3 separate regions of the Homo sapiens genome follow, and all the other regions are linked to region 3. Evidence: promoter capture Hi-C in 16 types of primary human blood cells and fetal thymus (Javierre and others, 2016). All regions are on one chromosome and are shown on one strand. Each heading gives the region's core, a stretch centred on a gene start or on the middle of the fragment in contact. The rest is flanking DNA. Distances are from core to core; before and after follow the strand shown. Region 1 has its middle 24 kb from the start of MASP1. Region 2 has its middle 29 kb from the start of RTP4. Region 3 holds the start of TPRG1-AS2 (TPRG1 antisense RNA 2).

Evidence for each region. The method cuts DNA at HindIII sites, captures the fragments that hold promoters and counts their contacts. A CHiCAGO score of 5 or more calls a contact.
Region 1: a fragment that was not itself captured here is called in contact with the fragment with the promoter of TPRG1-AS2 in region 3 in 2 of 17 cell types (total B cells and monocytes); the score reaches 7.5 in total B cells.
Region 2: a contact is called between a fragment that was not itself captured here and the fragment with the promoter of TPRG1-AS2 in region 3, in 2 of 17 cell types (monocytes and neutrophils). The highest score is 10.2, in monocytes.

Annotation. Positions count from the first base shown.
Region 1 is chr3:187,314,230-187,317,232 of GRCh38, forward strand. No RefSeq gene overlaps it. Among named protein-coding and RNA genes, the nearest start is that of MASP1, 24 kb to the left of the region's middle. The HindIII fragment of the contact is 3,543 bases long and covers 1-3,003 here.
Region 2 is chr3:187,337,852-187,340,944 of GRCh38, forward strand. No RefSeq gene overlaps it. Among named protein-coding and RNA genes, the nearest start is that of RTP4, 29 kb to the right of the region's middle. The HindIII fragment of the contact is 1,817 bases long and covers 574-2,390 here.
Region 3 is chr3:189,239,321-189,242,404 of GRCh38, forward strand. TPRG1-AS2 (TPRG1 antisense RNA 2) reads right to left here and starts at 1,274. Exons shown (of 3, transcript NR_046722.1): 1 at 1,177-1,274; 2 at 957-1,066. All of the region lies in intron 4 of TPRG1 (tumor protein p63 regulated 1), which reads left to right. RefSeq lists an enhancer at 1-356. The HindIII fragment of the contact is 9,051 bases long and covers 1-1,658 here.

The DNA.
Region 1 (3,003 bases), core at 92-2,591, 1.9 Mb before region 3:
TCCTGACTTATTACATCCCTGGGTAAGTAGAGGGAAATTTAATTCATATGTTCCCCAGTTATTTACACAATTCTGAGCAAGACTCCACCATTGTGTAAGAGCCATTTGACGTCGGTGGCACTGCTTTCTTTTTTCCATTCTGAGAAGAGTCCTTGAAGAAAAGCCAGCTCCTTCATCTCCGAAGAAGGAAGGGGTAGGAGCCCAGGGAACTGTCATCTGGACCTGGCAGGGCTCTGCAGCATCTGGGGAGACTGTTTTCAGAGAGATTCAGAGAGGAGGCTGAGGAGAGGGGTTAAGACAGGAGCACCAGTGGGCTGCTGCCTAGCCCTGTGCCCCCGTGGGCTCTGCCAGCTGCTGCCAGCAGGAGCTTGGTGGAGGGAGGAGATAGAAGAAGCTGGGAGGTGCAGTGGGAAGATGGGGTCTTCCAGGCAGGGGTCCTCCAGTCTTGCATTCTGTCATAACCTTGGGAAGGTTAGTTTCTCTCCATAAGCCTCAGTTTCCCCTTCTGCAAAGCATGAGGGTGTACCTGGTTCTGCAATCTTTATGGGTTTCCAACAGCCTATTTATTCTAGGACTCTTTTTTGTGTCTTATTGTGAATATTATCTGGCACTCCCTAGACAAATGTCGTTTAAAAAATATTTTTACCATAATCCTCAGTAGGAAATACATTTTACACAATAGCCTACTTTATATAACTGAAACAAAGGTTTCATAAATTAATACTTATGCTTTCTGTGGGAACAGACATAAAGATTGATGGAACAGAAGAGAGAATGTACAGATAAATCTGTACACTTATGGTCAATTGATTTCTAACAAGGGTGCCCAGGTAACTCAATGGGGAAAGATGGTCTTTTTAAATAGTAGTGGGACAACTGGTTATCCAGATGCAAAAATAAATAAATACATACATACATAAATACATAAACTTAGAGTCTTACTTCACATGATACACAAAAAATTGATTAGTAAATGGATCACAGACAGAAATGCAACAGCGAAAAATAAGGAGTGACTGATTACACTTATACACACGAAGAATAGGATCGTCCTCACAGACATTATGCTGAGTGAAAGAAGCCCATCACAAAACCCTAAAGGTTTTATGATTCCATTTATAGGGAATTTCTAGAAAAGGCAAAAATAATAGAGACAGAAAGTAGATCAGAGATTCACTGAGGCTGTGGGACTGTATACAGGCAGGAGGGGACTTTGCTGTCAGAAAATGGAAGTGTTCTAGAACGGTGATGGTGCTTACACAGCGGGACAGATTTACTAAAACCCATCAAACAATACACTTACGAAGCATGGACTTCATGGTATATCAATCATAACTTAAATATGACGACTAATAAAATTAAACCTAAAGAATACAGATGATAAATTATTTGTTCATTTTTTAAAATGTAGGTTCTCTGGGTATGACGAGTTAGTTCCAAACCACCTCTTATGACTTTATTCATCTCTCTTCATAACATCCACAGCATCATTACACATAGCTATTGCTTATTAATGACTATTCACTTGAAAATATTAAAAAGAATAGATACATACTGATTGAATTTATTTTGAAAACTGAATTGTTTTAAGAAAATGAGTTTTATAAGTCTAAGCAGATCTTTCTACATTTTTATATCCAATACCAACAAATGCCTCTAGTAAATCATAATTAGCCACAGATTCAAGCACATAAGTTTGTCATACCCACTACAGGCCCAATCTAATTGTTCTGAATGCTTGCGAAGCACAAGGAAAAAAGTTCTATCTCTCTGTAGGTGTTTAGGATGGGAACCAGTCACCTCCAAACCAGTTAATGACTAGTTTCCTACGCAGTTCAGTGGTTTCAAATCTAACTGATCATCAGAATGATTCATTGACCTCATCCCCTGCCCAGACTTAATCAATTGGAATTTCTGTGGGGACACTTCTTAAAAAGTTTTTCCAGGCCGGGCATGGTGGCTCATGCCTGTAATCCCAGAACTTTGGGAGGGCGAGGCAGGCAAATCATTTGAGGTCAGGAGTTCGAGACCAGCCTGGCCAACATGGTGAAACCCCCATCTCTACTAAAAATACAAACATTAGCCGGGCATGGTGGCGCACACCTGTAATCCCAGCTACTCAGGACGTTGAGGCAAGAGAATCGCTTGAACCTTGGAGACGGAGGTTGAAGTGAGCTGAGATAGCACCACTGCACTCCAGGTTGGGTGACAAAGCGAGACTCTATTTAAAAAAAAAAAATTCCCAGGTTGTCAGGGAGGTTTATGAGCCTCATTTGTAGCCACATCCTTTGGTATAGTCAGTTTTGAGATAGATCACAGAGAACTGGTTTCCAATTATAGCTTAAATAGCAAGGTTTGCAAATAAAGGACATTAAAATATTATAAAGAACAGTATAGATTAAGTTGCCTCAACAATCACACCACCCACTATTCCTTGCCTTTGCATCTTTAGAAAGAATTGGTATAATAGTTGTTAGGCTAGAATTCTGCAAACCCCTGAGAACCCACATTGATAACCTCAAATTCTTGGCTTTTCAAAGCCTCCTAAGCCTTTTTAGTCAAATGGAGATACCATCAATTAATTTTTTATGTTATCATTTGCCATTACATCAAGTCACCCTCCTGTATTTGCACAAGCTAATTTAAAAATCAACTGCAGAATTTCCACTTACACTACAGAAGCCAGTTTGTAGCTCTTCACTCTAGATTGTAAATATCTTTTTGAATCTTCAGTTGTTTAATGAACTCATCAATTCTCCCAGATTAATAGTATCTCAAATTTTACCAAATGAGCTTTTGTATTCAGGACATTTATTTTCATTGCCTTTGCCTTTAATCAACCTGCAAATCTATTTTCCCTCACACTCTCCCCTTGCTTCTAGCCACCTGCCTCAAGAGGGAAGGGGCCTTCCTCCTTGGTCCTCAGGAACCTCCCCTCTCCAGCGATGCCTGCTCTGTCTTGTATCCACTGCTTGTGACTCTCAGCCTGCTCGTCTTCCACAG
Region 2 (3,093 bases), core at 232-2,731, 1.9 Mb before region 3:
AGACTCATTCTATGTGGACTTGAAGACAGGACTGAAAACTGTGAGTTCATTTCAATGTAAAGAATCATTACTTGACAATTGAAGTTGTCTGAATACATGGCGGGCGCCCCGGGAAATAGTGAGCGTGCCGCTGGGATAACTCAGCACAGCCTGTCTGTCTCAGATGCTTCAGGTGCAGTTCTCACTCTGGGCATCACCTGGGAGTCAGTGACCTTCAGGTGACATTCTGATTGCATGATTCTATAAATCTCTGATAAAAAGTCCAGATCCAATTCCGCTATTTCCAGAAAAGACTTTCCTGTTTGAGGAAATCTCTCACCTCCCCAAACATGGTGCTCCCATGTAATCTACTCATGGGGGTGGATCAAACAGTCATAATCCACTCTGTTATCTCCTCTTCCCACTAGCTTATGACAAGAATCTGAGCCCAAGAGAGAAGAAGGGATTTGCCTAAAATTACAGAACTGCTAAGGGAGCATAATTAGGGTTCCTAACCATTAGAAACCCCCCCACCCGCACACACATACACTCCACACACTTCCCCTACATGGCCAGTCTGCATTAGACACTGAAAGCTTTACCACACACAACCCCACGCTCGAATTGCTTCCTATGTTCAGTGGAGTCACACTTGCTCTCATTTAACTACCTGAGCTTGATGGGGAAGAAGAGCAGGAAAGTAATTTGAACAGTTTGGGGAGGCCGCCTGACCTTCTGCTCATTAAGCAGAGCCCCAGCCCAGGCTGAGGGTAGGATGGCAGCCGAGTGCCTGCCGTTTCCTCAATGTGTCTCATTCCCTGAGTGCTGCTCAGAGTTGTAGGCATCCTGAATTACACGGCTGCTAAACGCAAGCTGGCGACTTCATCTGAGGCATTATCCACAAGCAGAAATCATTTCCAGCCCTGGAGGACCGACTGCTGGCATCGGACTCATAGAGGAATGTAAAGTCAATCTGCATTGTGGGGACTTTCTGAGAGGGTTAAGAGGGAAATTATGATGCTGTATCCTTTCCCTTCGCAAGCTGCAGGTTTTAGGGTACTGCTCCACTGTGTGAGGTCTCCCACCACTTCTGGTGCAGACCACATGATGGGAAGGCATCAGGCTTCCTTTCTGCAACTTGTACTCCTCACAGCAGCCTGAGAAGGGATGGTGCTGGGCACCCAGTGTTTCAGGAAGTAGTTATTGAATAGTTGCTTAGAAAAGAACTTACCTGCCTGGGCACAGTGGTTCACACCTGTAATCCCAGCACTTTGGGAGGCCGAGGCAGGTGGATCACGAGGTCAAGAGATCGAGACCATCCTGGCCAACACGGTGAAACCCCGTCTCTACTAAAAATACAAAAATTAGCTGGGTGCGGTGACACACACCTGTAGTTCCAGCTACTTGGGAGGCTGAGGCAGAAGAATCTTTTGAACCAGGGAGGTGGAGGTTGCAGTGATCCAAGATCATGCCACTGCATTCCAGCCTGGTGACAGAGTGAGACTCTGTCTAAAAAAAAAAAAAAAAAAAAAAAAAAGAAAAGGAAAAAAATAAAAGAAAACAACTTACCTTAGCCTTTCAGGATTGGTGTGGTATTAACAGAAGGAATATTAGTCTAACAGTTAGGGACCCCAAGTATGCTCTCTTACCAGTTCTGTGATTTTAGGCAAATCTCTTCCTCTCTTGGGTTCAGATTCTTTATCGGTGTGTGGGCGGCAGCAGGGTGGAGAGGGAGAAGGTAATTGGATTACAGGATGGCCACTCTCCCTTCCCATGTGGATATGCTAGGATTTTCTGAGTTTTTTGTTTCAGAGGTCAGCAACATTTTTCTGTAAAGGGCCAGAGGGTTTAGGCTTTGTGGACCACATGGACTTTGTCACAGCTACTCAACACTTCATCGTTGTGTGAAAGCAGCCATAGACAATAAATAGATGAATGAGCCTGGCTTTGTTTCATTACAATGTTCTTTACAAAGCAAGTGGAAAGCTGAACTTGGTTTGCTGATCCCTGGTTTGTAGGTGCTTGTTCTAGCCTCTTCTGTCTATTCTCCACACAATAGGGCTTTCTTACTCAGGCTGAAGTGAGTGGTGGGGACTCCTTTCTAAACCAGTCTGTTGCCTACCTGTGGCAAGACTCCTTACTTCTCCTCTGCCAGAGTCAAAGGATTCCAACTGAAGTAAGACTTTTCTTAGATTATTTCAGAGTTCTGCTTAATTTAGAGGCAAGAACCATGTGGTAAGAAAAAGTAACAGCAGTTGAACATCTTCACTTCTGCCATAGAAGCCCAGGTTTTCAAGACATCCCAAATCACTACGATGAGAGAAACATTTAGCTAATAACTAATATGTTCAATCTTTTCAGTAACAAGACCTATAGAGAATATCTCAAGAGCTGGACATATTTGCCTCCTAAGCTTGATATCCAAAGTCCTCTTGATTTAGCGTCAGCACCTTTTATACAAACTCCTATAACTACTACCAGACATGGCATCCATTCTGTCACTTCTAAGCTTCAAGCAAGGTGATCAGCCTATCTGTGCCTCAGTTTTCTCAATCAAATGAAATAATTTGTTTCAAGAGCTCTGCACAACTCCTGGCATACAGTAGGCACTTGATAAATGCTGTGGATTAGCTCCTTGTACCATGAACAGTCCTCACACTCACCTGCCTCTCAGGTAGTGCCTTGACTCACCTTCCTCCTGGCATGTCTGCATTCTTCTCATTCTCAAGATTCAGCTCCAATATTGACTGGCTAGGAAAGTTTTCCCGATTCTCTTGGTAAGAATAATCTTCCCAAGTTCCACTCACTCCTTAATTGAACCTCCTACTTCTACATATCACAGTTATTTTCTACTTTGTCATAGTTTGTTAGTACCTGATACTATAAATATCTTAGGAACAAAATAGGTCTCCAGGTCTTTTCTGGATCCTCTCCAAGGTGCTGAACCAAGGGCTTCAATATATAAAGGATTCTTGGTAAGTGTTGGTTGAATTCATCAATTAGGTAAATCAAACAAAGCCTCAACAGCCAGATTGATTTTCCTTTCATTTTGCATTCTTCTTACACTTTGGTTTCATGAGGATGGGGCTCTACTGTCAGTTTCAAGTCTCATTC
Region 3 (3,084 bases), core at 24-2,523:
AGAGACTGGCATAGGCAAGACTGGACCCCATGGTTCAATTACCTCCCCCTGGTTCCCTCCCACAACACATGTGAATTCTGGGAGATACAATTCAGGTTGATATTTTGGTGGGGACACAGCCAAACCATGTCAGTAAATTTGTATTTTAGTATGAGGACGTGACAAATAAATAGCTAATGTAAGGAAGAAAGAGCTGTGGGAACATGGGGAAAATGCACTCAACCTAATTTGTGTGTCACGTAATCAGAGAAAACTTTCAGAAGAAACACTTGAGCCAATATTTAATATTGGGCAGGAGTTAGCCAAAGAAGGAGAACCAAAGGGGAAGAACATTCCAAAGCGGTAGCTAAAAAGAGTAATGCCTCTGGGAATTGAAATTATTCTGTAAAGCTCAGTGGATAGAACCAAAATGGGTAGTAGCTCTTCTTATAAAATGTCTCTTGGGATCATTCCTGGAAGTTCAGTGACGTAGGGGTGGTGAGGTGTGTCAACTGTTTCACAGATGTTGACAATTACCAAGAGACTTGGTGAGGTCTACAGAGGAGAATGCTGAATTAGGTAAGTTCCTGTCATAGTCTTCGAGGCATCTGCCTTTACTAAACATTTTAGATCTAAGCAAGAGAAACAACAGTCTTTCTCTAAGACTGAATGTGAGGTCTTCCCATTGAACCGTGAATTCCTTGCGGGCAAATGTTGATTTTGTTGTCCTTTAAGCACCTGGCATTAGGACTAGCACATAGTAGGGTCTGAAATCTTTTCAATATACAGAAAAAAGCACGAGTTCATCAAGTGACTTGCTTTCCTTACACTATGCATACTACATAAAAAACTTATTTTTGCTTACTCTTTTCATGGATGCAAAAAGTGATTAATTTATTAAGTTCATTAGCTTTTAAAACTGTTGATTTTTTTCAATAATAATATTACACATTGTAAAATATATATTTAAATATTACAAAAATGTTCATTTTCAGGAACTCTCTCTTCTACACCAGACCCTCGGTTCTTCAGCCTTCCCTCCATGGGTGATAGTCAACAGTTTCTTGTGTATTTTTAAATAAATAGTCTATAAATATAAAAGAATAAAAAGTTCTGTATTAGTCCATTGTCACGTTGCTGATAAAGATATACCTGAGATTGGGCAATTTACAAAAGAAAAAGATTTATTGGACTTACAGTTCCACGTGGCTGGGAAGGCCTCACAATCATGGCAGAAGGTGAAAGGCACATCTCACACGGTGGCAACAAGAGAAGAACTTGTCCAGGGAAACTCCTGTTTTTAAAACCATCAGACCTAATGAGACTCATTCACTATCACGAGAACAGCGCAGGAAAAACTTGCTCCCATAATTCAATCACCTCCCACCGGGTTCCTCCCACGACACATGGGAATTGTGGGTGTTACAATTCAAGATGAGATTTGGGTGGGGACATAGTCAAACCATATCAAGGTCTCTCTGTGTACATATGCCTATACACGTTTAAAAGTACATATCTACACACATATTTATTACATATTATTTTACCTAATGAAAGCACATGTCATAAACTGTCCTGCCTCATGCTATAATATCTACCAGTGATATAACTTGGAGGTTTATATAATCATCTATAGATCAATCTCAGTGTTTTTTAATAGTGCAGAATATTACCTCTTAAGCTTAATCTATTTAGCCAGTCCCTCATTGATGTATATCTATTTTTACCGTTGCTACTACAAAGTGCTGCTACAAATATCCTTGCTTACAAGACTTTGCACAAACATGTAATTGTTCCTTTAATGTATTAATGGATTTCTAGAAGTGGAATTTTTAGGTCAAAGTCATGTAAATTTTAACCGATGAGTATTGTCAAATTGCCTTCCAAACAGGTGCTACCAATTAATACTTTCACAAAGTATCAGGGTAATCTTTTCCACACACCCACACCAATATCAAGTATTACAAAACCTTTTTACATTGCCAGTGAGATAGTAAAGAAAAGTCTCTTATTTGGGGTTCAAATTGCATCACTAGAATTTGAAGAACGATATGTGTTTTTATCCTTGGGTTAGAAAGCCATATTATTTATTTTTCTGTGAACTGCCTATTTATGACTATAGCCCATTTTTTTTTTCCTGTTGGGATGTTTAATTTTTTTCTTATTGATTTGTAAGAGCTATTTGTGTATTAGAGAACTGAATTCCTTTTCTGTCCTATATGTTGCAAATAAATTTTTCCCAGTTTGTCATATCTCTTTTAACATTATTATGCTATTTTTCATGACCTTTAGTTTTGGGGTATTGATATGGTTTGGTTGTGTCCCCACCAAAATATCAACCTGGACTCTATCTCCCAGAATTTCCACATGTTGTGGGAGGGACCCATGGAGAGGTAATTGAATCATGGGGGCTGGTCTTTCCAGTGCTATTCTTGTGATAATGAATAAGTCTCATGAGATTTGATGAGTTTATTACGGGGTTCTGCTTTTGCTTCTTGCTCATTTTCTCTTGCTGCCACCATGTAAGAAGTGCCTTTTGCTTCCTGCCATGATTCTGAGGTCTTCCCATCCATGTGAAACTGTAAGTCCAATTAAACCTCTTTTTGTTCCCTGTTTGGGGTATGTCTTTATCAGCAGTGTGAAACAAACTAATACAGGTATCAAATTTCTCATTCTTTCAAGGCTTCTAAATTTATGTCTTTTTGAGAAAAGCTTTCTCCATACTATAATTATAAAGTAAATTTCCAAGTTTTTGTCTAGTAATTTTATTTTACTGTTAACAACGAACTTATATTTCATCTAAAATTTGCCTTGAGTAAAGAAGAAGGTATGCAATCAACTTGAATTTTTATCCAGATGGCAGGCTAGATTTCTCGATATCATATATTTGATATTTTATGTTTATTATTTTATAATGTAGTACTTTTCTCTGTGTGTTTCTGTACCTGGATTTTCTATTCCATTCCATTTGTGTCTCTTAAAGCTCAAAATGGTTTTAATTATTATAACCTTATATTATGTGTCAATATCTGGTTGAGTTATTCCCCATTTATTAATCGTTTTTTATTTATGCATATTTATTTTTTAATCAGCTTGTCTAATGTT